Linked DNA regions of Homo sapiens: all the other regions are linked to region 1. The links are contacts of gene promoters, found by promoter capture Hi-C in blood cells and fetal thymus (Javierre and others, 2016). All regions are on one chromosome and are shown on one strand. Each heading gives the region's core, a stretch centred on a gene start or on the middle of the fragment in contact. The rest is flanking DNA. Distances are from core to core; before and after follow the strand shown.

The links. The method cuts DNA at HindIII sites, captures the fragments that hold promoters and counts their contacts. A CHiCAGO score of 5 or more calls a contact.
Region 2: a fragment that was not itself captured here is called in contact with the fragment with the promoter of INPP4B in region 1 in 5 of 17 cell types (non-activated CD4 T cells, naive CD8 T cells, activated CD4 T cells and 2 more); the score reaches 11.6 in non-activated CD4 T cells.
Region 3: a fragment that was not itself captured here is called in contact with the fragment with the promoter of INPP4B in region 1 in 6 of 17 cell types (non-activated CD4 T cells, naive CD4 T cells, activated CD4 T cells and 3 more); the score reaches 14.5 in non-activated CD4 T cells.
Region 4: a contact is called between a fragment that was not itself captured here and the fragment with the promoter of INPP4B in region 1, in 7 of 17 cell types (naive CD4 T cells, activated CD4 T cells, non-activated CD4 T cells and 4 more). The highest score is 15.4, in naive CD4 T cells.
Region 5: a contact is called between a fragment that was not itself captured here and the fragment with the promoter of INPP4B in region 1, in 5 of 17 cell types (non-activated CD4 T cells, activated CD4 T cells, naive CD4 T cells and 2 more). The highest score is 9.2, in non-activated CD4 T cells.
Region 6: a fragment that was not itself captured here is called in contact with the fragment with the promoter of INPP4B in region 1 in 15 of 17 cell types (total CD4 T cells, fetal thymus, non-activated CD4 T cells and 12 more); the score reaches 65.6 in total CD4 T cells.
Region 7: a fragment that was not itself captured here is called in contact with the fragment with the promoter of INPP4B in region 1 in 12 of 17 cell types (non-activated CD4 T cells, naive CD4 T cells, total CD4 T cells and 9 more); the score reaches 28.0 in non-activated CD4 T cells.

What each region holds. Positions count from the first base shown.
Region 1 is chr4:142,844,163-142,847,906 of GRCh38, reverse strand. It overlaps INPP4B (inositol polyphosphate-4-phosphatase type II B), which reads left to right and starts at 1,606. Exons shown (of 26, transcript NM_001101669.3): 1 at 1,606-1,698. All of the region lies in intron 3 of USP38-DT (USP38 divergent transcript), which reads left to right. RefSeq lists an enhancer at 263-849. The HindIII fragment of the contact is 4,051 bases long and covers 1-3,744 here.
Region 2 is chr4:142,181,557-142,185,792 of GRCh38, reverse strand. The region is part of intron 15 of INPP4B (inositol polyphosphate-4-phosphatase type II B); the gene reads left to right. Among named protein-coding and RNA genes, the nearest start is that of IL15, 550 kb to the right of the region's middle. The HindIII fragment of the contact is 549 bases long and covers 1,058-1,606 here.
Region 3 is chr4:142,199,374-142,203,125 of GRCh38, reverse strand. The region is part of intron 14 of INPP4B (inositol polyphosphate-4-phosphatase type II B); the gene reads left to right. Among named protein-coding and RNA genes, the nearest start is that of IL15, 560 kb to the right of the region's middle. The HindIII fragment of the contact is 1,699 bases long and covers 402-2,100 here.
Region 4 is chr4:142,157,197-142,160,910 of GRCh38, reverse strand. INPP4B (inositol polyphosphate-4-phosphatase type II B) reads left to right here. Exons shown (of 26, transcript NM_001101669.3): 17 at 350-553. Among named protein-coding and RNA genes, the nearest start is that of IL15, 520 kb to the right of the region's middle. The HindIII fragment of the contact is 951 bases long and covers 1,353-2,303 here.
Region 5 is chr4:142,216,333-142,220,227 of GRCh38, reverse strand. The region is part of intron 12 of INPP4B (inositol polyphosphate-4-phosphatase type II B); the gene reads left to right. Among named protein-coding and RNA genes, the nearest start is that of IL15, 580 kb to the right of the region's middle. The HindIII fragment of the contact is 2,275 bases long and covers 735-3,009 here.
Region 6 is chr4:142,123,290-142,127,366 of GRCh38, reverse strand. It overlaps INPP4B (inositol polyphosphate-4-phosphatase type II B), which reads left to right. Exons shown (of 26, transcript NM_001101669.3): 19 at 2,607-2,779; 20 at 3,952-4,075. Among named protein-coding and RNA genes, the nearest start is that of IL15, 490 kb to the right of the region's middle. The HindIII fragment of the contact is 7,020 bases long and covers 1-4,077 here.
Region 7 is chr4:142,140,981-142,145,179 of GRCh38, reverse strand. The region is part of intron 18 of INPP4B (inositol polyphosphate-4-phosphatase type II B); the gene reads left to right. Among named protein-coding and RNA genes, the nearest start is that of IL15, 510 kb to the right of the region's middle. The HindIII fragment of the contact is 2,191 bases long and covers 1,688-3,878 here.

The sequences.
Region 1 (3,744 bases), core at 357-2,856:
TTGTCCCAAGCTCTGGGAGCAGAGTGATGAAAAAAATAAATGAAACGAACAAACAACTCCCCCCACCAAACAAAACAAAACAAAACAAAACAAAACAAACCCAAAGTCCCTGTCCTCATTGGCAAGGCTTATAATGTGGTGGTCAAAGGTTTGAGGAGTGAAAGGATGCCTAGATGCGGGCAGTGACAGCAGGGGTGACAGCTGGGGGTACATACAGCTTCCTGGTTTGTGAAACTGTTAAGCCCCGACTTAACCCAAATTGATTTCACTGTCCTGACTTTGAGATTCCAGTCTTTTTGCATGGCAAATGTAACACTTGTGTACAAGCATTCGTACACTGCTTTACTTAAAATGTGATTTTAAAGCGCCCTCAGGGAGAAGGGCTGGGGTGTCTTGATGGGCTGGCTCTGGGCACCTTTACCTTTGAACGGCTCCATCAAAACCTTTCCGAGAGAGCCGCCAGGTGGCACCTGTAAAGCGCAGATGGGGAGAGTCATTTGCCCCACACCCTACACAGCCCGGAATAACCAGGGTGCGTGCTTTCCCCTGTGGGCTTGTTAGGGGCTAGGAAGTGGGGGAGTTTTAGTCTCCGTCCAGACTGCTTGCTTACATACCCCGTTTTCCTGATACCCCAACACATTCAGGGCGGATTTGTCCCCACGCACCCGGGATATCAAAGGCATGTCATACGCTAGTTGGGAGCATCTCGGCCTCAGTCACCCGCCGCGACGTGGGAACTGGCGGTGGGTGGCCGAGGGCTGCTCTAAGCTGGTCTCCTCAGCCCGACCTCTGCCCGGGGCAAGGGGGAGGAGGGGCAAGAGACAGGGGTCCCAGCGCGGCTGCAGACTGGGGTCCAGCAGGCGTGAATGGATGCCTAGACGCAGGCAGTGACAGCAGGGATCCCAAGCCCCTTCCAAAAACCCTCGGTCTAGGGACTGCGCTGCCATAGGCCGGGGTCTGGGGCGCTTTCTTCCTCCCGCGGGTTCTTTCTCTGTGGTTTCTCCTGCCCCCGCAGCAGCGTGGCGGCCTCGGGTCCCCCCTCGTCGCGGTAGCGGTGATCCCACAGCCCAGTCTGGGTGGGCGACCCAGCGGGCAGAGGGGCCGCAGAAAGGGGTCGGGGTACGGGGTGTGAGCACACGGAGCCAGCGTGGTAATTTCGGGGTGGGCAGCCGGGCCACCATCTCCGCTCTATCAGTAGCGGGAAGCGAGCAGCGCCAGTTGCGCGACTGTCGCTGCCACGGCCGCCTCTACTCGGTCGCTGGTGACATTGGGAGGAGACCGCTTGGAGAGAGCAGAGGAGGAGGAAGAGGAGCGGGGAGGGTGGGGGTTGGGGTGGAAGAAAGTAGCAATTGTGCCAGGGGGCGTGTGAGCAGCCGGAGAGCCAGCCGCGCTGGTGACAACTTCTCTGGGGCGCGCGCGGGGCTGGTAGGCGAGGAGCGAGCAGGGAGCGCGGCCGAAGCCAGAGGCTGGGGGAGCTGCTGGAGCCTCGCGAAGCCGCGGCCGGCGCCCTGCGCCGTCGCCGCCGCCTGCTAGTTTCCTCCGGGTTCTCAGCCCCGGGTACTGAGGCTTCGGTCTATAAATAGCAGGTTACAGCTCCTCCTGGGCGCGCACACGCTCACACGCTCGCAAGCGAACGCAGGAAAGTCAGGCTAAAAGTGTCTGCTGCTGCTGCCGCCCCCCACTCCGCCTCCGGGAGAGGTAATTACCCGCCTGGGATCCTAGGGCTCGGTGGGGGAATTTTGCAGGGTGGGGTGGTTGATGGTGGGTAATCCGGGAGGCGAGGGAGCGTGTCTGAGAGCGTGGCGGCACGTCTTGGAGGGGGGAGCCTGTCTGTTTTGCATCAAGTTTCTCCGTCTTGCAGCCTCCATCACCCCTCCAGCTCTTTAGCTTAAAGGGTGGGGTGGGCTGTCTCTCCTCGGCTGCTGGGGTACCCCTGTCACCGCGCCTACCCTCTCGCCGAGCGCCCCTCTGCCCGGCGCGCGCGCGTTTTCGCATTCTCACTCACACACGCACACTCTCCGGGCCCCCGTGGAACTCTGAGCTCTGGCCTCGCTGACCTTCCAAGGCTGCGCCCACCTGCGCTGTCCCTGAGAGACGCTGAGGTTGGCCCGGGCACTCGCTCTCACTTCCAATCCTGATGATCGCAAGCTGCCGCCGCCGCCGCCGCCGCCGCCGCCGGCCTGGGAAGAAGTCCTTAAGGAATAGAGGCAGTGGTGGGGAGTGAGGGTGACTGATGTTGGTGGTCCCGGTTGCCTTGTTTTTTGTTTTAAAAATAAAGAGCCCATCTCCTTGACCACCTTCATCCCACCCTCAACAACTCATTCTGGCAGAGAAGCCTGGCATGTCTTCTCTCGGCCATCAGGCAGCATCTCTTGTCCTTCCCCAAAGAGGTCTCGCTGAGAGGTTAGGGCCTTGGCGCAAGAGTGCCTGGGTTTGGACGGGGGAGGTCATTGTTTCGGGTCTGAGAACTATGCTGCAGGCTCCTCAAGCTCTCTGGCGCTCAGGCAGGGCCCAGGGCCGGGGAATGTCTGGGAGCCTGGTTCCTGAATGTAGTTTCAGGCTGGTAGCTGATATGAAGATGAGGATGCTAGAACCACATATACCTGTTTTTCCCCCTCCCCACGCTTCTGAATTCTCCCTTCCTTGGGGGCAGTAGTTTCTGCTCCTGGGGAGTCGGTGGAGAGGGGCCCAGCAGTTTCTCTTTGGGGACAAGAGGGTGAGGAAGCACATATTGATTAGGTTGTTGCTGCTGCTGCACAAAACTTACTGGAAAAACCCGGTAGGGTTTTCTATTACTCTTGTTTTAAGGATGTAAATTTACTCCTTTTCCTCTTTTATCTTCTCCCTAACCAGAACTAGTTTTCCTTTCTCTTTCTGGAATGTTATTTGAGGTCATTATATTTTATGACTCCAGATGTTACATTTTGCATATCTCCTTCCTGTCAGTATGACAGACAGAACTTGTTTATAAAGGTGTGGCTCTGTAAGTAAAAGCCTAAAGACAGAGGATAAATTCATCTTCTCTCTCTCAAGATGAGCTCCAGATAGTTCTTTTATAGGTGTACAACTACATTTCAAAGACCTTGCTTGAAAAAGGACTTTTCTTAATGAGTTCTGGACCAGAAATGGTAGTAATCTGACTCAATGATAAAGCAGCGCATAAGGTGCAAGGAATCATCAACAGGGCAGCTGGCTGATGATGTGTAAGAAGTTGAGTAAAGCAAGGACTGGGCAAGTGGGCATTGTCAGTTCACATACTATGCACAGAAATGCATCCTCTCCTTTACGCATTGATGCACATACATGCATTATGTGTTCCTTTGTGATATAATCCTGTAAAGCATTGATAGGAAATGATCAATAGTTTTGTGAAAGGTACATGGGCATTGAAGGTTGAACCTCGTGAATTTGTAGTAATGTAAAATGCTATTGCAAAATGGATTGCTTTTTCAGTGTATTTCCTTAAAATGTGATGTAGAAGATTGTCCTTGAAAGGTTATGAAATGTGTGTGTGAAGATAGGCTAAATGCTCAGTGACATTAAGAAACATGTTTGCAGATTGAAATACTGCTCTTATTCTAGGAGAGTATTCTCTTTGATTAAGCAAATCAATATTTATTTGTGATAAAATAATGATCACTATGATGTGCATATTTATAACTCAAATTTGCTTTTGACTCTTTATAAAGTGTAAGAACAACCAGATAGACCATTTAGTCTTGTCCCTCTATTTAAAGTAGCATG
Region 2 (4,236 bases), core at 83-2,582, 660 kb after region 1:
ATTCTCCTGCCTCAGCCTCCCGAGTAGCTGGGACTACAGGCACCTGCCACCACGCGCGGCTAATTTTTTGTATTTTTAGTAGAGACAGGGTTTCACCGTGTTAGCCAGGATGGTCTCTGTCTCCTGACCTCGTGATCCACCCGCCTCGGCCTCTCGAAGTGCTAGGATTACCGGCATGAGCCACCGCGCCCGGCCAAGAGGACTTCTTTCTTAACTAAGAAACTAAGATTTCTTAGTTAAGAGGTAGTTAAATTTTAGAAGTAATACCACCAAAAAGTTGTATTAATATGCATAATATGCCTAATTTCTCATTCAGTCTTGAGTACTGAGTTTGGATATTATTCACGTGTGAAGTAGAAGTATGGCTGATGAGATATATATATATATATATATACACACACACATACACATATATATTTATAAATATATATCTAGCAGGTAGCTCCACTTTACTCATATCTTCCATACACCTCAAGATTGAGATATTGAATCATTTTGCATCCCTTTGGCTCTCAAACTTGCTTCTTTTGGGGGTTATTTTCCTTAATAAAAAGGTATGACCATCCACCCCACTGTTCAATGTAGCACCTGAAAATCCTTGACAACTTTTTCTCCCTTGCTTTCACTTAAAATTAATTTACTTTCTTATATATCTGGAAGTTATGCATTTTAATAATGAAACATGGGTTAAGATAATCCTAGCACATAGAACCACTGTCTTTTAAATATTCTACTACCAAACCTCTTAATTACCGTCCTTCCTTCCAGACTGGCTCTCATCCAATCAGTTATCCTTATCTTGGTTGGAATTATATTTCTTAAAGGCAAATATTCTTGTGTTTCATAATTTTAAAAATTTCTTTGCTGCCTCTTGCTTGCAGGAGAAAATCTAAGGTGCAATAATATATACATGTGTTCTGGCCATGGTTTCTTCTCCAGCTTCATCTTGCACCATGACACCATCATCTTTCCCTCCCCTCTACCCTCCATAGTGAACCAGAAGAGAACTTTCTCACCACCACAGATCTTAACTTAAAATCATTTCTGCCTGGAAGCTTCTTCTGACTCCTTGTCTAAGCCAAGTCTGCTTTAAGTCTCCAGTGTACAAAATCCCTCTAGACTGTATGTGCTCTGAGAATATGAAACATGTCTGTCCAGTTTACCACAGTATCCCCAGGACCTAACTTGAAAAGAGTTTGATGAATGGATATATATATGGGGGAATGAATGAGTAACATCAAAGTGTTGCCTGCCATAAGAATAAAGGGAAGAACCAATGACTATGCCTGCAGAAGAGATCAGTGTGATAGAATTAGGTAGCAGACACAGAGACTTTTTGTGGAATTAGGAAAAAGAAACAGAAACAAAAAGACACTTGTGGAAAATGTCTTATAGGCTTTGAAAACAACTATTTGGCAGGTATAACATTAGTGTTTCCTTGCACCTCACTAGCTAGGGAAAATATACTTTTACGTCTTCCGAAAGAAGAAGGGAGACAATTTATATAAAGATGGCTAACTTAAAAACCTGATTCAATATCAGTAATGCAATAGTGACTTTAACACCTCCAAGTTGTGACATTCTTCCAACAACCTGTCCAAAAGCTTGTGAGGCAAAGAATGATCTGATATTTAGGCAAGAGGCACTATATATAGTGTGACAGTTCAGAATTTTAAAAAATTGAATATTTATTTTAAAGGAAATGACTTTAATTGTAAATGACAAAATGTGTTTGCTAAACTGTCCCCAAATTTTTAATGATATCAAATTTGGTGAAGAAGGCAGTCTGAAAATGACAAAATACATAACCACTCTTGGATTTTCTTGTCTTCACTATAGCTGTGGCTACATGTGTACACCTAGAGATATATCAGAAAAAAAAATCAACAAGAAGATTAGGGTTTAAAAGTAAAAATGTTAAGTCTAATATGAAAATTACAGAAAAAATACATTTTGTCTGTTTATTTTTAAAACTAAATATATAAAGATAATATGATTTGAGGATTTATTTTCTGTAAATTAGAAGTTACGTTTCTCCTTTGCTGCAAACTGAAACAACATTTTAAACCATGACACAGTATGTTATCTCAGAAGTATTCACTGAATCCAAGGAGGAACTTTTGAACTTGTTAAACTCCAAGTGATTTCCAGAATATTTTTAAAGCTGTCTGTTGTTCTAGATATTTAATAGTCATCATTGCAAAGGCAGCATACAGCAGAAAAGTCATCTATAAATAAATTGCCAGTCATCTACAAATAAAATATACTATATTTTTCAGAGCTTTGAAAGCTAAGTGTAGAACATCTCAAACTTTAAAAAAATGTACATATGGAATTTATGTCATGGAAAAATCAAACACTTGGCTGTGTTACATGATATAAATACTGTTATTGCAAGATCTTTATTAGAGGGGACTTTGCCTGAATTATTTCAATGTCCTCTTCCTTGTGATGAGGCTTACATTAATAATTGATTATTGTGGTAACCCCATCAGAGAAGGAAGATGGATTGGCTTATAGTGTCAGCACAGATGGAGAGAAGATAAATTACAGAGGTATTTAGGGGCAACTTGGGGGTTGTATGTGTGTTAGGAGTGGAGGTAAGAACCCAGAGGTATCAAGGAAGACTCCCACATACATCTGGGGAATGATAGTGCCATTCACTGCCCCTTGGCTTATAAACTCCAGCAACACAGAGCAGCTTCTAGAGTGTAGGAGAGTATGAAAGGACGTTAGGCTGGGCAGGGAGCAAGGACCAAATCTTAAACAATTATTTGCTATGTCAGCTCCTGGCAGTTCACCCTATAGGCTATGGATACTGCAATTGGTAGGTTTTCAGCTGAAGATTGCCGTGATCATAGTATTTGGAGTGACAGTGTAGAGAGAACAGAAGAATGGCAAACAATTAGACTATTATAATAGTTGCATGAGGGAAAACAGGTACCTGGGGAGTTGAAGATTTTAAGGAAATATCTAACAGAATTTACATCCAGTTGGCTGAGGGCTTGAGGGAGCCTGGGCAGGATTGAAGGACTCTTAGGTTTCTGGTTTCTATAACCGGGTAAATGCCAAGACAGCTGAGAAAGGGGATACAGGAAATAAGCCATTCATTTCCATTGCTTAATTAATAAGGTCAGTTGTTTATACTCCATTAAAGAGACATTTTGAGAAATAAGAAAATAATCATGTTGAGTCCGTGCTGTTTTTCACATTAAGAATCTTTTTTTTGTTTGTTTTTTTTTTTTTGAGACAGAGTCTCGCTCTGTCACCAGGCTGGAGTGCAGCGGCGTGATCTCTGCTCACTGCAAGCTCCGCCTCCCGGGTTCAAGCAGTTCTCCTGCCTCAGCCTCTCAAGTAGCTGGGACTACAGGCACCTGCCACCACGCCCGGCTAATTTTTTGTATTTTTTGTAGAGATGAGGTTTCACCGTGTTAGCCAGGTTGGTCTCAATCTCCTGACCTCGTGATCCGCCCACCTCAGCCTCCCAAAGTGCTGGGATTATAGGCGTGAGCCACCGTGCCCGGCCAAGAATCTTTTAAATCATAGAACTTAGAGAGGATCCCAGAGACCATGAATTCTCCTACTTATTTTATTGATGAAAATACCAAGGACCAACGATTGAGTCACCAATGCAGCTAATGACAGAACCAGAGCTAGAAAATTAGACTTCTGTCCTTAGTCTCAAGTTCTTCTTCCATACTCATTTACCCTCAAGCAGTCAAAAGATGTTCAACACATGACATCCTCTTAATAAGTGTGCAATGTTAGCTTAGGAAGGGATTTTGCTATCCACCAGAGAGAAATAAAATGTAGTTGGTCTAGTCAATTCCTTATGGGTCTTTAAGAGAATATAATTTTTAAAATAAATTATTTGTGCTATTAAAAAACATGTGAATTGATGTGGTGATTTGCACTCAGAGTCAATTACTATATTAATCTGCCTAAAATCGTTCTGCCTAGTAGTCAGTAAAAATATTTTTAAAGCTCCAGCCTTATCAGTTTTCTATCTGCAGCCCTCTCAAATACACTTAAGGAACACCACTTTTTTAGGAATATGGCCACAATAAAAATAAAAGAAGTAAATTTCTCGGAGTTGTTCAAAGATTACCATTCATAATAGTAAAATATTATAAGCATTTTGAATGAATGAATGAATGAATGAATAAGCAAACTATTCTGCATCGCTAAAGTTGAACATTATGTAGCCATTTCAGTTATTCGGTGGATTATGAGGTA
Region 3 (3,752 bases), core at 2-2,501, 640 kb after region 1:
GTGCAAAAAAATAAAAAGAGGGTCTGGGGTGATCACTTCACCCAAGCTGAATCAATGGAGTTTCACTCGTGGATTCTCTTTGGGGATTCAGAGACAATCTCTCCTTCTGAATTTAACTCTAATTGTGTTCTAGAGAACCAAAAAGTGCTCATCTTTTCCGTGGGGAAGAAAAATCAGACATACAGTAATAAAGGAGACCACAAAAAGAGAGGAAAGGCAGAGATAGTCTCTCATGGCTTTTCAGTTCCTGATTTGAGCCCACAGGGAATGAATGGGCTTGCCCTTAGTTTGCATGAGTGAAACACACCTGTCAAGCACGGCCCCGCCCACTCTCATTGTTTTTGTTTGTTGTTTTTCAGATATCTCAAGTGGGATTCCGCAAATTGGTATGAAAAGAAGCTTAACTAATATATGTTTTAAAAAATGAGTTTATATCATAAAGCTGTAGGTGAAATCAGGTCCAACAGTAGCCAAAATTTACTGTGTTAACTATGGAGGAGTCAGCTAACCTCTTTGGCCTTTCATTTTATAATCTCTACATAGAAGGAAGGAGCAGAAGAGAGGAGCTTCTAGAGCTCTCTGATTTCTGTATCTCAAGAATGTGAGAGTATCACCTCATCAGTGAAGCATAATTATGTTAGATGTATTTAATAACGATGTCAAATTGCTTGGACTATTTTGACACAGATTTCCCTTAAAAATCCCTAAAGGCTTTTGCAATTCCTGCCAAAGACATATTACATGCCATTTTGAAATCAGGGATTATATTTAAATTGTTCCTTGATATGAGGTCAGCGTGTCTTCATTTTTGACATTAGCACTATTTTATAGTTGTAGGAATTTTAGAAAGATCTTCTGGGAAAAATAGAGTTATTATCTCATTTCTATTATTAAATGGCTTTTAAAAGGCTACAAGGCAGCCCTATTATTAAATCTCAAATCAATCTGGTGTCTTTAGTTTGACAAGACTCAACAACTTAAATTCTACTTATCTATTACTTTTTATCTATTACTTTGGATACTATGCAATTTTCACAAAGCCAAAGACAATTTTTGAGACACTATAAAATGTCAAAAAGGAAGACACATTTAAAAGAAAAAAAACTGTATTTTGTTTGCTTAAATTTTCTATAAGATATTCCCACTTAGATTTTTCTAATTGTCTCTTGATAACAAAAATCTGAAGACTTTTATTACACAGCTAAGGGCTATTCAAATCACAAAGATACATAAAGAATAGGATATAGCCATGGTAAAAGCTGTTCAAAAAATCGTAAAGAGCAGGGTACAATAAAAATATTTTTTAAATGATAATACGGATTTTACCGACCAAATTGTTACTTTAGAATTTTAATTTTGTTTTCTTATAGGTATTGTTACCTTAGAATTTTAATTTTGTTTTCTTATAGGTTATTTTTTTTTCTTGTACATTTTTTTCTCTTTGGAGGAAAACAATCAATTGCAGTTAATTCTAAATTTAAAGGAATACAACTGCCCCAGCTAAGAATGAACATGGTACTTTAAGTGTATACCATTCTTCATCAGCTGAAGAGACCAGGAAATAAATCACATGGTATACATAGATCAATCTATTTTGTAGTAGTTACAAGTGAAATTCAAGGCTGAAAGGGCCAAAGGAGATAAACCATGCTGTTTCACATTGAGATATTGGTAGCTGATAATTATGAAATGACAACTGCAAAATATTAAGAAGATTACCTAAGATAATAAATTTGCAACTTTCATAGAAAGTATTGGTATTTTAACAATTTGAGTGACCAGTTTTAAATGTGAGGGAAAATATCTCAATTAAAGTTAAAGATTACACAACTGTACAAAATGTTATTTCAGACCATGTGACAAACCTAACATACCCATAGCTGGAGAACAAAGCTGTTTCCTTTGGCTTAAATTCATGTCAGTTCTGAGAATAACATTCAGCAGCTACTTTCCAATTGTTTCCTTCAAAGCCACTCTTTGGCTATCAAAGTTAAAAGTTTAAAACTTAAAACAAGTTTTTTGAAGACCTGAAGTGTAAAAATGCTATTTAAAGCCAAACTCTTTGAACTTCTATAAAATATGCACACAAAGATTCAAGCTTTTTGAGGAGTGGTTAGAATCAGAATGCAATTGAGGAAATACAAAGACAGGGAGACTTTGCTTTATAAGTATCTAGACATAAACCATATCTAGTGTCTTAGTGGAGAAGACCTCTTGATATTAATGGAATATGATAGGTTGAAAATGCCTTTCTAGAATTTAGATAAGATGCTACACTTCTGCTAGCTGTGAGAGTTTGTCAATTTGAAATTTATTCTATGAAGTTCAAAACTGAAGAATATTTGGGGACTTTTACCCTATTTTTGCTCTCTAGTACTTTCACATTTGAGAACACATAAGTGTGCTTATTGTTTTTCAAATCTGATTGTTTTCTTGCTTATCAATATGTCTGTCTTAGAATTTCTTATCCCCAACCTGCTTTATTTTTTAACTTACTTTTATTGTGTTGTTTAAGTGATAATAAGTGATCAATAAAATTATAAAAAATGATAATAAAAAGAATGAAAAATAAAGAATAGAGGCAGATAAGGAAATAAATATGGAAGTATGTATACATAATTACTATAGGACACGTATTTTCTAGTCCTAGCTAATGAAAGGGAAAGCAGTGACACCATAGTAGCAGTGAGCATAACTAGTCCTCAGTGCTTGATTTCTAAACACTATTCTCTAATGAAAAGGATCAAGGTTTATTGGAAAGTTGGTTGATTGCAGGGCTGGGTCAGGGAAAATACAAGATGATTCTGGAGCATCTTGTGGCTCTAGAAAGTAATGACATGCTAAAAAAATTTTTTTTAATAGAATAGGTATACATAAAGGGCACAACAGCCAACCTTAAGGCGCTCCCAAAACACAAAGTTGGCACAACCTGAACAGCAAAAAGATATTACTGAGTCATTAACGAAATGAAAAATTCCCATGGGTCTATATTAATATTAATAGATGACTGAATAAGTAAATGAATGGAGGAGAAGAGTTAACCATGCCTTTCAGAAGAATTCTAATTAATAATGTGAGAGAAATGAAACAAAAAATTACTATTCAGATATATCAGTAACAATTCAAGATCCATCAATGAATGCAAAAATTAGTGAGTAAAAGTTTAAGCAGAAAAAGGATATTTGCATAGTCTCCAAGTATGTTCCCCCAGATTTTTACTAACTTTCCAGGGGAGAATTAACTGTCAGTAGTGGCAGGCACTCCAATGCATCAAGGTTAGCCTCAAAGTAGTACCGAAACATACACTGATATGATGCTCTGAGAAGGGTACATCACCTCTGTAGTGTTCTGCTCCATATTGCACAACCTAAGTCTAATGACAAACCATAAGAGAAACCCAAGCTGAGGAACATTCTACAAAGTAACTGATAAGTACTCTTCAAAAATGTCAAGATTATGAGAGACAATGAAAGACTGAGGAACTGTTATAGATCGGAGGAGCTTGAGAAGACCTGACAGTTGAATGGAAGGCAGGATCCTAGAAGAGAAAAAATGTGTGAGTGGAAAAACCAACCTGAATACATCTTCTTAAAGGAATTCTATATTCCTTCCTGTTTAGACAGCATATTAAAAGTTAATTCAAATTCCATGGAAATATTGATAGCAATTTAGTTATAAGCTCTTTGATCTTTTATAAACTATAATCCAGAATATATATACATATTACATACACACATATTCCTGAGATGTGT
Region 4 (3,714 bases), core at 579-3,078, 690 kb after region 1:
GAAAGCTGCAGCAGGTAGATGTTGTTCAAATGATTAAGCCCACTGAAATTCATCTCCAAAGACAGGATTTGTGAAACTAAAAGGGAGAAGGTTGAGGAGACAGACGGTGTTTATAGTGCATTTAAAACCTCAGCATTAACTTTAAAACAGGAGGACTTAAGGCCTTGGCAGCATCCCAGAACCAAACTATTTTCCATTGATTGGTATGAATCATTTTCTCTCCTTGGCGTCTGTACTTTTTCCACCATACACACCACTTAAGTACCAACAAATCTGCAATTGACCTTTTCACAGCTCTATGCTGAGATGCCTACCAAGGTGTTTCTAATCCTTGTCAATTTCTTTCCAGACAGAGCTTTTTGTACATGCCTTCAAGGATCAACTTGTCAGGAGTGCTCTTTTAGCACTCTACACTGCAAGGCCAGGAGGCATTCTTAAGAAGCCACCCTCTCCTAAGAGCAGCACAGAGGAGAGCAGTCCCCAAGACCAACCCCCAGTGATGAGAGGGCAGGACTCCATACCACATCATTCAGACTATGATGAGGAAGAGTGGGTAAGTCTCTTGTATATCGCTTGCCTCTCAATGTTTGGCAATGAGAAATAAGGTAGGAATGATCAGATAGCTCTGCTTTCCATTTTAAAAAATGGAAAAAAAGTTATAACACTGATTGTGGATAAATAGGCCACATTTTTCCTTAGGGGCAATTTTTTTTTGGAAGTTGAAATCCTGATAAAATTTATTTGCTAGCCAATGAATTATATGTTTAAGTGAGAATCTGTCATCCAAGTAAAGATGCCACAGTTACAAGACTCTTATGTTTCCTTATTTATTGCCAAACTATATAAAACATGAAAGTTATTTTTTAGAAAAAGAATAAAAAACCCTCCATGTTACTACTACTTAGATGCAACAAGTATTTTCATTGTTGCAATCCAGTGTTTTGGTTCTGGAAGTACTTTTTAAAAGTATTCACATTTAAACGACAATAGACATAGATATCTCGCAAATCCCTCTCGCTCAAGGTTCTATAATGTAAGATGCTGCTCTAGGTGCTCTAAAGTTTACAGAAGAATGGCCTCATAAAATGATACGAAAAAATAGCTAGGAAACATGAATAAACAAAGGAAATAAATATGGTGAGAGAAATTCTAGTTGGGCCGAATATGATGGGAGAAACGTGAAGGTGTACCATGGCAGAGGAACAGGGTGTTATTACTGAATCGATACATATAAATTATTCAAGAATTCTCCAAAGTATATGCATATTACACACACACACAAAGGGAAATCTATTACTGTATCATATGTTTAACAAAAAAAATAGTGTGCTAGCTGTATTAGATGTTAAGCTTTTAGTTAACAATTACTTTTCTTGCCACCCTAGAATTTAAGAATGGGGAGTAAATTACTTGAAAGGCACAGGCCTCTCAAAAAAAAAAATGTTATCTGAAAGGCTGTGAGGTGATGCCTGCTTTTTCTTTTGGTAAAATTTCTATCACAAAAATGACAGAGGTGGGCTCCAAGAGGTAAATGCTGAGTGTTTGTCGTTGGTGATTAAAATTGCATTTCTCCCAATGAAGCATTTTCAAAGAGCAAATCTAATATTTCTTTCTCCCTTTTACCTTCACCTTCTTCACTTTTTTTTTTTCACAGTTCCAAGTGTACACACCTCTTAACCTCTGAAGTTCAATTTTCTCAACTGTAAAATGAAAATAACAGCACGTGTTCTGTTAGCTCTTAGAGTGGTCATGAAATCAATGATTTACCATGTTACAATGCTCCATTTCCTGGAAATGCCAAGGCAAATGCATTATATTACTTTAGTATTATTGTTATATGTTTCTTAAGTAATATAAATTATATAATCTTATTAAGAAGATTAATACTATCCCTTGAGATAAGTGGGGAAATTAGATATGTCATACAATGTGGATTGTGAATTTTGAAGAGTTCGAGTGTATACAGAAAAGAAGATATATTTTATTTAATAAACATCCAGTGTTGACCTTTTGACAAATAATTACCATTTTATATTAAATCAAGTGAGAATCTTGGAATTTTTCCCCCTCATTTTAACTCACTATGTTTTACAAACCCTTCCCCCTCACCTTGACCCCCTCTTCCTGTTGAAAATAGTCCCTCTCCTTCCTTGTTTCCTTTTCTTTAGATAATTTTTGAAACCTTTTATTAAGTATTTCAAGTGGGAAGGTAAGTAATGTTAGATCCTTAGTTCTTGGAGCTCAGAGTCTAGTGATAGATAAAAATATGTAAACAAATAGTTACAACATTTTGCAACAAAGCTTAGAAAGAAACATGATAGAAGACAGTTTCTGCTAATATGACTTCAACTCAAAATTTTACGTCCAGAACTGTCTTATGATGGGCAAAGACGGAAGAAAGTGGGGACTGTATCATTAGTTGAGAAGGTTTACAGAGCACTATTCCCTTCAGTCAGTGTTACTGAGTACCTGTTCTGCCTTATTCACTGTGCCACATGCTGGGGACAGCAGGTGAACAACGTTGGCCCTCAGTTACTCCACAGCCTATTCAGGGCTGTAGAAAGACAAATAGCAATCGCAGTGCAGCCTTAGAGATGTACATGGGATACAGCAAGAATGTGGTAGCCATAGTGGTGTTGCCAGAAGTAATTCTGGAGATTTAAATCTGAGTATAAGTTAATCATTCAAGAAAGAAGATGTGGTGCCCTTTTAGATGGAGCATAATAGCTGACATACAGAGAGAGGTAGTTAGTGTGTGTGTTTGTGCCTGTGATTATTATTAGTTATTTACATGTTTTGTTTTAAAGTGAGTGAAATTTGAGCATGTTATATTCCAAAGGCTATGTGAGAGGCACAGAGGTGATAACTGATGGAGCAAGGTCCTTACAAGAGAAGGAAGAAAGTCAACGGTAGGGTCCAGGTGGAAGAGCAGGCACTTCTCCTGAGACTGCAGGGAGGATGTGAAGATGTGAGGGTGGGTGGGGCTGGATGGCTGCTTTTATCCATAAAGTAGAACCATGTGCTAAGAGAAAAAGACGGGGAGGACTGGAGGGAGTGGTGAAGGTTTCAAATAGGCACCGAAGAAATGAGTACTTGAGCTAATGAGTAACGTGAAAAATTTGAGAATAATTCCAGGCTTTGTGATGGGCCAGCCAAGGCTGGAGTATCAGGTGGCATGGTTGTTTGTTTAGCATTCATTATTCTTTTGGGAATATTTTCTAGTCTTAACACCAGGAAAAAAGTCTTTCTGATTCTTTTCTCCAGTTGATGAAAAGCTGTCATCTCAGTTTCTCTTGTTGTCCTTCAAAGGCAAAAGGATTGGGCAATAATGAAGGGCTGCATTGCTCTCTGCATCTCCTTAATGTCATTTCTAAGCCTCCTTCTGAACTCATTGTTTCTGGAAAGCATATACAAGCTTTGCCTAAATTTACCATAATTACAAGAAAAATCTTTCCCACTCAGAAAAGTTACTTCTAATTCTCTCCTTCTAATATAATTTTACTCTTTTTGCAAACAAGAACCGAGTTTGTTTGGTATATAACATTTTCATTGATTTTCCTTAGCAACCGCTTTCTACTGAAAACATTCCTTCATCAGAGGATAGAAATCCCTTATAAAAAGATAGAAACAATATTTCACCAGAGTCATAAACACTAACATTATTCTCAAAGCTTTATCTAACTTTGATAAATTGAGTAAAACTAAAGAAAATGT
Region 5 (3,895 bases), core at 623-3,122, 630 kb after region 1:
TCATAGGAGAAACTGTACTCCCCCAAGAATTTAAATAAAAAAGATAACAGGATTTGAATTCCTAGGAAGTGAGTACATGTCCTGAATCTACCATTTACTGGCAATGTGGCATCAACGAAGTCACTGTACTTCTCAGTCATTTGTGTAGAGTGATATTGTCCAAAAGAACATTCATTGATGATAGAAATGCTCTGTATTGTACCATCCTATAGGATAGTCATGTGGCTACTGAACATTTGAAATATACCTAGTACGATTGAATTTTTTATTTTGTTTGGTGCAGCTGTGGGGCAATGATCTCAGAAGATTGCTATGAAATCAAAGGAAGGGATCTTTTCTATGCAAAAGTAACCTTGATTATCAAAAGGGATAACACCTGGAAAATCTTATGGTGTCCACTAACCAAACAAATTTGACATAGAATATTCAATAGAGCCTGGTGTTTTCCTTCTACCTACGAAACTGGACAACATCCTCCGTCCAAGTCCAGGGTTAGAGGAATTTAAAGGGGTGGTATCCAGAAATGTTCTCTATTTCTGAAATTGTGGGCACAAATTATTAAAATGTGATGAGAATGCTAGCACTCTGTCTTGTTTAAACAGCTTTTAAGTACGTTTCATAACTTCCACGGCTACTTAGAATGAAAAGGCATGTAATGAACATATGTGGATTTGTGAGAAACCTTTGCACAATGCAACTACCACTGCTTTAGACAATAAGTGGAGCACTAAGCTTTAAAATACTAAAAAATAAATGCTGGCCATGTTTAATAACTTTAAAGCAAACTGTGAAGGGTAAACTGATGTTATTTAGAAGTAAATAAATACCAATTTAACTTTATCAACAAGAGCAAATAGATTCTTAGTCTGGAAAAAGACATACTTATTGTTCTTCATTTTTTTCTAATGCAGTTACCTAAAATTAAATTATAGAATCTGGCTGTTTATCAGATACAAACAGATTTTGTGATTGCAACTAAATCCTGTAATAACTGTGTTCCAACTGTCAGTCTTTGTATATAACTTGAGGCTTTATTGTGTATATAGTACAATAAGCAGTTATTTTAACTTCAAGTGAAAATCGGAGTGAATGACCACTTGGAATATTCAGTTGTTTTTCCCTGAAATAGTGGCTCATGGCTTGCAACATTAACCACATTGTCATTTATAAGAATGTATTTTAAAAAATAGGCCCGTGATTTATGGATGCAATTTTTATCCATGTGTGGGTTAAAGCACAGATATTTTGAATTGTAGGCTGAATATACTGTGAAACCTGACATCCAGTTGAACTTTGCTCAGTTTTATGGTGTCACCCAACCACTTTATGAAATTGAAGCCACCTACCAGTCATTTATGTAGTCTATTCTTCACTGACTATTTAGTATTTAATTTTTGTCCTAGTGAATAAATTTTTTATGACTTCTTTTAAGTTTGATTTAAGGTCTAATTTTGTTTAATGAATGAAAGCATCTTGGCTGTTAAACTTTCTACCCATGCATACCATGTGTAGTTTTACTGTGTAATAACTACCAAAAGGCTTTATTTAAGTTCTACAGCTATTTTTATTTTTTAAAATGGTATTATAGAGCTCATTGTGGAAAAATATTTCTATTTACTTAAATTATAACAGTCTCAAATAACACTTTTATATCTCTCATACTGGGCTATATCCTTTGCTGTATACATTTTTATCAAGCTATTTTGTCTTACGACTTTTCCGTAAATGAATTATCTATTATTTTCAGATACTCATTATTACAATAATTACCTTCCATAATTTCTGACATTTTTGAATTTATATACCCAGATTTTTAAAGTTTACCAATTTTGGTTCTCACTTCCAATATCATAGGTGCTTGCACACAGAATGTTGGCCTCAGAACTAAAGAGATTTCTTGTGCATGTCCCTTAGACAAGTCGAACATCACTATAGTTGTTTTTCTTTTGAACAAGTCAGGAGAGTATTTGTAAAATGTGGTAGGAGGGATAAAAGCCCATGGAAGAGCCTAAACTATATTCTAGATGATTTTCTTCCATCTCCCTCCCACCATCACCAACTGGCCTGTCTCTCAGCTGTTTATGCACTAAGCAGAGAGAAATCAGTGTGATGGAATCCCAGCATAGTTAGTGTATGGGTCAGGGTTCCAAAGAGAAACAGAATAGAACACACACACACACACACACACACAATTTATTAGAAAGAATTGGTTTACATCATTATGCAAGCTGACAAGTCCCAAGATTTGCAGGGTGAGTAGGCTAGCTGGAGACCCATTAGAGCCAATGGTGTAGTTCCAGTCGAGTGTGTCAGTCTGAGTCCAAAGGCAGGAAAAAAGCAAAGTCTCAGTTTGAAGGCAGTCAGGCAGGAGATTCCTCTCTTACTTGGGGGAAGTGTCAGTCTCTTATTCTATTCAGGCCTCCACCTGATTGAATTAGGCCGACCCAAATTAGAGAGGGCAGTGGGCCTTATTGAGGCTACCGATTCAAATGTTAATCTCCCTCAAAAATCTCCTCATGGAAACACTCAGTATACCGTTGACCAAATATCTGGGCACCCTGTGGTCCAACCAAGTTGATATGTACAATTAACCATCACAATAGGAAATGCCATATGAAGATAAATTTTTCAAATCTTTATCCCTAAGGAAGACTTGCTTAATCTAGGATTACAGACCTACATCATGCAAGGGTAGAAGACCGAACCATGTCTCATTTCTCCATTGAAACTTGGCAGAGCTTAGCACTATACTCTAGGGTTAGTCTATATTTTGACTTTATCCTAAATTTTAGGAAAATATAAGAACAACAATCTGCAAGCAAACTTCATTTATTCAGTCAACAAGCCCATCTCAGATACTTCCCATGGGTAGGAGACTGCGGTTGGACAAAAAGATGAATAAAGCTAGTCTCTGCCACTCACAGACTCAAAGCACATTTGCCCCATGTTGGAAATCCCTCCTTGAATATATCATCAGTGGGCTTTAATGCTATGTTTTAAATAGAAGCTTTAAATAGAGCTACAATTTTCTATTTTGGTGATCTTAAGCCTTCTGTTTCTTCTTTTTTTGTTTTTGTTTTTTTGCCCCAGTAACGTTTATTTTCCAAACAGAATTGTACACAGAATTCCAATGTAAATTAAAGGGATATAATTGGAGCTACTGGGTGGGTACAGTAAAGGAAAGAACCTGAGGCCTATTCATTTACTCGCCCTAATTTGTCCAACACTTTCTGGGTCCCTATACCTACAACAACCCCAGGGGTATAAGGAATAAAGTTTAAAAAATACTTATCTGTTTAATATTCCGGCCAATATTTTACACATTATATGTAACAAAATTAAAGCACATTTGGTTACTTTTCTCCCAGTTCTTCTATGATTCACTCTGTACTTAATTATTTCTCTTTATTCTTCACAGGGTTGTTTTGTTTTGGTTTTTAATCTCATTTTCTCTTCATGTTTTTAAATAGCTTGTGTTTTAAACATGTCATATAATTAGTAGGGTGTTCTACATTGTGGAAGGTTCGGAGTATATAATGACTTCCAGGAACTTGCAATTTTACTGAAAATAAAAAGCATGTGTTTTTGAAATATTTAAACACAGTAAGACAAAACGATCCATATAGACAAAAAGTACTTCATAAGGTTATTTCCAGAGATCTGTATGAATATTTCATCAAGTATCAAGAATGTGATACTTTGCTGTTGGAATGCCAGGATCTATAGAGCACTAGATGTTTCCTGAATAGACATTAGCAATTATATGTCTCCTTTGGAGATTTGTTTTGTATAATTTGCCTTTTATTTTTGTAGTCAGGAAAGGGAAATGGAGCAGATGGAAGTAAGTCCCAAAAAGTGTTTAATGTGTAAGAGGCCTAAGCTTATTAATATTTTA
Region 6 (4,077 bases), core at 1,561-4,060, 720 kb after region 1:
AGTTTTCTCCTTTAAATACTTTTTAGAGAAACAAATATTTAATTAGAATTGTCACTTAATGTCTTGCAAGAAAACAAATGTGGTCACTTAAGTTATTTTTTAAATTTTCTAACTAGAAAAATCATATAAAGTATTGACCAGTTGATTCAGTATAGTACCATGCAAGATGCTTAAACAATAAGTACATGCTGTTTGGGAACTATACAACTGCGTACAAAGTAAAAATCAGTTACTTGAATGCAGTAAGTGCAAAGTAGTTCTGCTTCAGCCTGATTAAGCAGCGCCACCTACTGCACAGAAGATGTATTTTATGTTTGGGAATTCTCTAGTAGAAACAAATCTCTACAGAGCTAAGCACAGAACAAAAGCAGTTTTCAGTCTGTTATCGTTTAAAATTTACATCTGGGTTAATTTATTGAAGTTTTTTCTAGTGTTTCCCTGTGTCTATTAGTCTACCCATTCATATTGAGAACAACAATTAAATAAAGGGAGAGAACAGGAGATAAAAATGCAAATATGAAAAAATAGGAATATAGGATATTCATTCTTGGTATCTATTGATGTATCTCTTATTATGAAAAAAAAGTTCAGTGTACCTCTATTTTCCCTTTTACACATGACAATGACATAAGAATCAACAGTTAACCAATGCTTGTTTAAATTGAACCATTGTTCACATTTTATTCTAGGCTGCCTATAAGTTTGTCCAATATTAAATGATCATGCATTAATAGGGCTCTGTTGCATTCCTCTTTCTTTATGCTTTTTATCCTCATAATAGCATGTACATCTACAATATTTTTAAAATAATTTCTAACATTCTAATGTATTTTACATTATGACATCACATAGGCATTTCATAGAGTATTACTAAGAATGTATCTTTTTATTATGTTGGGGCCATTAATTATCCTTTCAACCCTTTGGGTTTATTTCATCTAGTCTATTATACCACAACATAAAATAAATAAGTGACAGTAGACATGGTACGATAGTGATTGTGATTCTTTTTATTATTCTCTGTCACTCTTTCAAGGTCTTAACTGATTATTTACCACTCACATTACTCACAATGATGCTTGCACTTTTATGATGAGGAGATCATATCATTTCAGTTCCTGCTTTATAATTAATTTCGCAGCATGCACTCATTCATATCAAATCGTATTTGTCACCCATTAATTTATTTATATATTAATGGAATGTCACACGGTCAAGAATTTATGATAGTTAACATTTGCCAGGGCTTTGATCTCCAAATTAACTGAAACAGAACATAAATTGTTTCTATATCATACCAAAGTCATAATTATATAATTGATGCCTGTTAGAAATCTAGACATACAAATAGCACAAATGGTCTCAATTTTGCATCCTCATTTGAAGAACAGCTATTTGAATCCCAAATACTACCCAAAACTTGACTTACTTAAACTTGTCTATATCTTTAAAACTTTTTATATTTATTGTAACTTTTCTCATTCAATTAAAACTTATTGAATATTTACTATATGCTAGGCACTATGCTAGGTTCTAGTGATTCGGTGATTAAAAAATGAATTCCTTGCCCTCAGTGAGTTATCTTTCTTGCAGAGGAAAATGGTGAGTAGTGTGTGAGTAGTACTGGGACAGGAAGATACAGGCACAAAAGGAAGTCAGCTCAACCCAATCTTCATGGAATAGGGAAGTGTAGTAAGGGGGAAATGAAGGAAGACTTCCTGGAGAAGAGAAATCCTGAATTGAGTTTGCAGAAGAGATAAAGCATTTGTCAGGAAGATAAGTAGAAAAAGAGTGTTCCAGGAGAGGAGATAGGATTTTCAAAGACATTGAGATGAGAGAACAAGATAAGTTTAAGGAAATACATGAGGTTCAATTCACCTGAGACTCAAGACAGCAAATAAACTTCTGAAAGATGAGATTAGACAAATAGGCAAAGTTTAGATAATGGAGAATCTTTCATGAGTTTGAACTTTATTTATTTATGAATGCTTTAGTGTTTTTTTTTCAAAATATTTTAAGAAGTGAGGAGTGAGTGGTACAATCAGATACAAACTGATTATAAATGTTTCTGGCAACACTGTTGAGAAGGGAATTCAGTAGAGTGTGACTGGAGGAAGGGAGATGGGTTAGGGAGTAGTCCAGGAAGTAATCCAAGGGAGAGCAATAAACAACGATGGGCATGGACAAGGAGAAGATGCATATTGATGGACTGTTAAGAGTAGTAGAACTAATTTAATGACCAAGTTAATGTGAAAACTGCAAAAGAGGAAGTCCAGTAAAACTTCTGTTTCCAGTATGAGAAAGATTTGATGGCACCACTCACTAAGATACAGGTAGTGCACAGATTAGAGATGAGCAGAGAAGAGAGATCTGCTGCAAATATGTTAAATGCATCCACTTGGAGAGGTCTGATGGGTGGCTGCTTATGGACATTGTGGAGTTCAGGCGAGAGATTTAAATTAGAGATCTTCAGCTCTAATCTTTGTGAATCCTTAAGAATATGTCTAACTTACTGAAAAATTAAAAATAAGTTGGAAGTTGGTTCTGCATTATATTCCAAGACCTTCCTTCATCTATTGCACTGTTCTTACACCCCCTTCCCCCAGAGGACTGGTATGAACAGTTGTATCCCCTCATCCTTACCCTGAAGGACTGCATGGGAGAAGTGGTGAACCGAGCCAAGCAGTCCCTGACATTTGTGCTCCTTCAGGAACTTGCGTACAGCTTGCCCCAGTGTCTGATGCTGACGCTAAGAAGAGACATCGTCTTCAGCCAAGCAGTAGGTGCCTGTTGTTATTGTTAGTACAAAACAATGCCGGATTGTTAACATCCTATCCTTGATGATGAATAGAATTCTTATTGGGACAGCTTTATTTTTAAAAAGATCCTTAAAGTTTTGGTATCCCATGTTTCTTATTCACGATAAATATCAGCTGAATATCCTAAGCAAAGAGTTTATGAGACCTTAAGTATTTATTTCTGAAAAGAGATGGCCAAGTCTCTAACATGTAAATTCTGCTTCACAGGGCATGAAGTCCGTGAAGGAAGTGGTCATCATCTTTGTATTATGCTCTGGGATCTACATAAGTGTAAGGGAAGGGACTGTTGACTTGCACTCCAGGTGACAAGCTAGGACTTGGCAAAGGGGATCTGTTTGCAGTCGCTTATTTGTACAGCTCCCCCATGAATCCTGGGACAGGATTTCACAATTATCTCTTATTTTGTTTTTAAAATAAGTTTTCAGGGCAGTAAGGCTCGAATAGGAGGTTTGACAGGGCCACCTTCCTTGCCTACACCCAACATGATTCATAATGCCAAGGCCTGCCTCCATCACGGTGGGTGTGCTGGTGCCTTCCTTCTCCCCACCTGCCTCCATCCTCATGGCTGAGTTTTATAGACAGGACATATGGAGAGAAAGAAAAAGAAGACTTCTCTTTCTAAACATTCTAGGAAAAGGGAATATTTTAACCAAACTGTCGCTTTCCCCCACTATTTCATGAATGGTCCAGTGGCACATGAAGCTAACCAGGTGTCGGAAAATATGCTCTGCCTTATACATACATGTTTCGTCATTGTGTTCTTTTAATGACCCTGTGAAATGATTATTATCATCTCTATTTTACATGTACAAAAAATAGTAAGATTTGGAAGTGCTTAAGTGTTTATGAATTTACTGTTAGAAATGGTAGATATAAGATTTGAAGACCTATCAACCTTACTCCTGTCCATGTTCTTTTTCCCTTTGCACTTCTACCTTCCCCAAGACTTTTATACACAGCAATTCTAGATCAAAGACTGTCAACTTGTTTTACTATGCCTACCAAATAGTTGTAGTTTTGTTATACATACCTGATAATCGAATCTGTGATGCCTCAGAAGTCTTAAAATATTTCAAAATAAAACAAATACGTTTGCTAACTGCAGTAAATCTCATCAATATTTTTTTTTCAGCTTGCTGGATTGGTTTGTGGTTTTATCATCAAATTACAGACAAGTCTGTATGACCCAGGCTTCCTACAGCAGCTTCACACAGTGGGGTTGATAGTACAATATGAAGGACTGCTAAGTACATACAGT
Region 7 (4,199 bases), core at 1,534-4,033, 700 kb after region 1:
GCTAGAAAATACAAACAAAATTTTAACTACAGATGTGTCCCTGTAAATGGCTTTGAAATTTTCTTTTTGTTGATTTGATTAATGTTTGATTAATATTGACACAAAAACCAAGGCAAATGTCTACATCTCTTTACGGCAGTAGGAACTGCTGTTAGGGTTGAGTCAGACTTTTTTGCTGGGTACTTTAAGTGTTTGGAGAGAATAAGCAATACTACCCTACTCTCTTCTGCTGAAATCTGTTCTTTCTTTTACTTTAAAAAAAAAGAGTCATAAGAAAATACAAACATTTATAAAATTAGATTTATGTTTCCTCAATTTGTTTTCCTAATTTTTCATTACTCACATTTTTATCAGGAGTTTAATTATATAAAACATCAATCTTTCATCACTTGATTAACAGTAGAACCATTTCTAAATTATATTTGTAAGCTATGGCTTTCTAAAGTATTCTTGTTGTAGATGGTCCCTCTTCCTCTGTCATACATTCATATAGGCAAAACATTTATGCTAATGTTCTTTATGTTCACACTTACTTGATCTAACTGTATGTAGGGATTTTCTTTTTTAACAATACCAGTTTTTATTAGTTAATGAATCTTGTCTAGCTTCATAACTTTACATGAATCAAAATGAAAGCTTGTCATAGCTATGTCATGAAGAAATAGCATACTTCAATTTTCTTTAATTGAACAAATATTGATTATCAAGTATGGGCCAGACACTGCTGTCCTCTAGAAAATGAGGTAAGAAGAATTCATTTTAGTGACTATGTCCATTGATAGATTTTTTCAAGGCATATTATTTTTTAGCAGAAATAAGATAAGGGACACTGGATTTTGTTATATTTTTTGTTTAATGTTGCCAAAACTTCTCACTGAAGACAATAACATTCCAAAATATTTGAAATTATACAGTGTGTGTGTGTGTGTGTGTGTGTGTGTGTGTGTGTGTGTGTGTATCTTGTATTTCATCAGAAGACTGCATCTGGGCATTCAAAATGCATTTTAAAAGGTAAAATATTTGGCAGATAAATCAGCCGTAAGATTAGATGAATCATTTTTATTTGAATATGAGACATTGTGTACATATAGTCTAAAACCAAGTAGAAGTTGCTGCAGAAGTAGAATTCACAGCTAGATCAATGTTGTGGATGGTTAGAGTCAAACTACAACATATTGCCCTCTAATTTATTTTCTTATTTTATTATCTATGTTTATTTCACTCATCACCAATTCTTTCTTGTGTTAGAATTTTTTTAAGAGAAGTCACTATTTAAATGTGTGAAATATGTTACTTTTGTCTGAATATTTCCTCATAACCATTCTCCAGAACGCGTATTATAATGACTGTAAACGAATTCATCAAAATAGAAGCCATTATTTTAGATTTTTAAGTACTATCATAGTGCTGTAATTAACATATAAGCATCTTTGATTCTGTAAGTCTTTAACTAAATTTTATTTCCCCATAAGTTAGATTGTCAGAACTGGAATTATTTTGTAAGGAAGAGTTGCCCCCTCTCTCCTATGTATTTATTTATCCATTTTTTATATCAATGTGGACTCATGAATACTTATTTTATTTTTAACTTAAATTTTAATTATATTTGACACATAATAATTGTACATTTTTATGGGGTTCACCGTGATGTCTCAATGCATGTGTATGTGTGGGTGAACGGAAAGCTTCTCCTTTTGCCCTCTGAAAAGTTATTGAAAAATTAACTCATAAAAAGGCAGATTCATAAGAGAAAAGGAATATAAATTTATTGCTATCATGTGTAAAGGGAGAATCACACTGTGATTACCTAATATCTCAGTACAGATGCTTATATACCCTACATTTTAGGGGAAAGGGAGAGGAGAGGTAGTGTGGATGATTTTAGGAAGATAGTAAATAGTTTTTAGGATAATTTAATGGGCTTGAAGAACATACAGTTGTCTGTTGGGCCTGTTGGTTTGTGACAAAAATATGTCCAGGTTTGTTGACGACTTTTGTCTTCCTCCTGGGATATGGGTTCAGTTAGTAAAAAACCAAGGAGTGGATCACAGGTAATTGTTTTTTGGTGTTTTGCTTGTTTGTTTTTGAAGATCTGGAGTTTAGGCAGTTAAGGAAACTTCAGCCTGTGCTTTTGAAGAGGTAGAAGATTGAGAGACATGGGGCCGAGGCAGAGAAGAAACAACTCTTCTCCTTCATAGGTCTGCCCTGTCTTTATATGGATAGGGAAAAGTCTGTTCTACCATCTGTTGATCTCTAAGGGCCTGTAATTCAAAATATTCATTATATCAGGGAGCCATATTTTGGGGTAAAACTCCATGTGGTGCTTTATTCACATAATGACAACATCAGAGTAATTACCATATTCATCACTTTAAACGTTTATCATTCCTTGTGGTGACAACATTCAAAATCTTTTCTTCCTTGTTTGAATACTTATTTTATTATTTGGTTAAGAATCCAATACTAATATTATTTATTTTGGACTCAAGTTGTTCTCTCTTATTCAGATTGATTTCTGTGTCCTTCTGATGACATCCTCCCATATGTTGTTTACTCCCTTACTTTCTTATTTCCCTTACTCATTTTCTTACTTGTTTTACTCACTGACTTCCTCTTTGGCACCATAAGAAGCTCTAGGCTCATCTTATATTTTCCCTACCCCAGCTCCAGGTTCAGCCAATTTCTAAAGAAACCTGGTTTCATTTTATTGGAGAACAGCATTTAGAAATCAACATCTGGATGGATAGAAACATTTTCATGGTTCTCTATAACAAAAGACACTCTAACTAACAGGATCTAAAAGCAACCTTCTGATTACAATCTTTTCAGCCTTAAATATTTTCACTTATTTCCTGCCACTTTGGGTGAAAATATCATATTGTAATTTCTTGTTTCTGTGAAGTTTGACATTGTATAACATGTTACTATATTCCAAAATATTATTTTTGATAATAAAATGTATTTCTTCAATAGTCCCAAATTTATCCCAGCCCAAGCCATTTTGCTCCTTTCTTTTTTACAATTAATTAGTGAATTGATTAGGCAAGCAATTTGAGACATATAGTATTTATTACAATGTATGATATGATAAATACTGATAAGCATTTGTTGCAGCATCATTTGTTAGTGATGTTATTCTTCATGTTGTATTACTTCTGGTTTTTTGTTTATTAGATTCTGTATCTATTTTAAATCAAATTCTGGAATTTTGTTTTATTTCATAGGGTTTTGATTATTGTGATTTATGTTGGGATACATTTCTAAATTTGGAGTAAATCAATCCTATGACAGTTTTTCTTTTTCATCACACTCCTTTATTTTTACATTGTAGCTATAATTTGTGTTTGTTTTGCTGCTGTATACTTAACATGGCTAAACAGATGGTCATCTGGGTTGTGCTACTTTTATCCACTTTCTTATGTTGTTCTTTAACCTACAGCTATTTCTCTTTTCAAGTTGCAAATTTTCCTTTTAGTAATATTTTAAATCTGTAGTTTTGAAGGTTTTCTGTTTGTTTGAGAACCAAGGTTTTACAGTATATCTTTGGCTTGCTTTATAAATTTCTTTTTAGGGTAAATGCAGATAGTGCTGAGAGACATAAAACTTTCTGTGCTGTTCTGAAGAGAAATAATAGAATAACTATTCCAAAGTTCTACAGTTTATATATATTTATGTGGTTTCCTAATGAATGAAGATTGTCCTTTTATTTGTAGTACACTCAAATACCTTTCTAAGCATCTGCTGTCTGTATAGCACTACATGCCTTCAGTTTCATAAACTGCTGACTCAAAGATAAAATCAGTGAATATTAGAACCTTAGATTTTGACGTCATCTTAAAGATTATGTAATTAAACCTCCTAAAATATGTTAAGAAGCTTATCTACAATATCTCTGCCGGTTTTCAACTAGCCTATGAGGCACATCTTCAGTTATAGAAAACTCTTTTTATCTTCTAGAGCAACATACTCCAGACCTTGATCCTAATATGTTTTCTTTCATTGTACCCACTGGTCCAGATATAATCCTTTGCAATAAAAAACAAATTTACTTTTCTTTCTTTACATTAAGCCTAAGGTGTATCTGAAAGCAACCCTCATGTCCCTTTTGAATTGTCACCTTTTCAATCATTTTTCAAAGGAATAGCTTCAAGCATATCCAAGAGTTTGCATTTCTCTGAACATCTTCTAGTTTGTCTCAG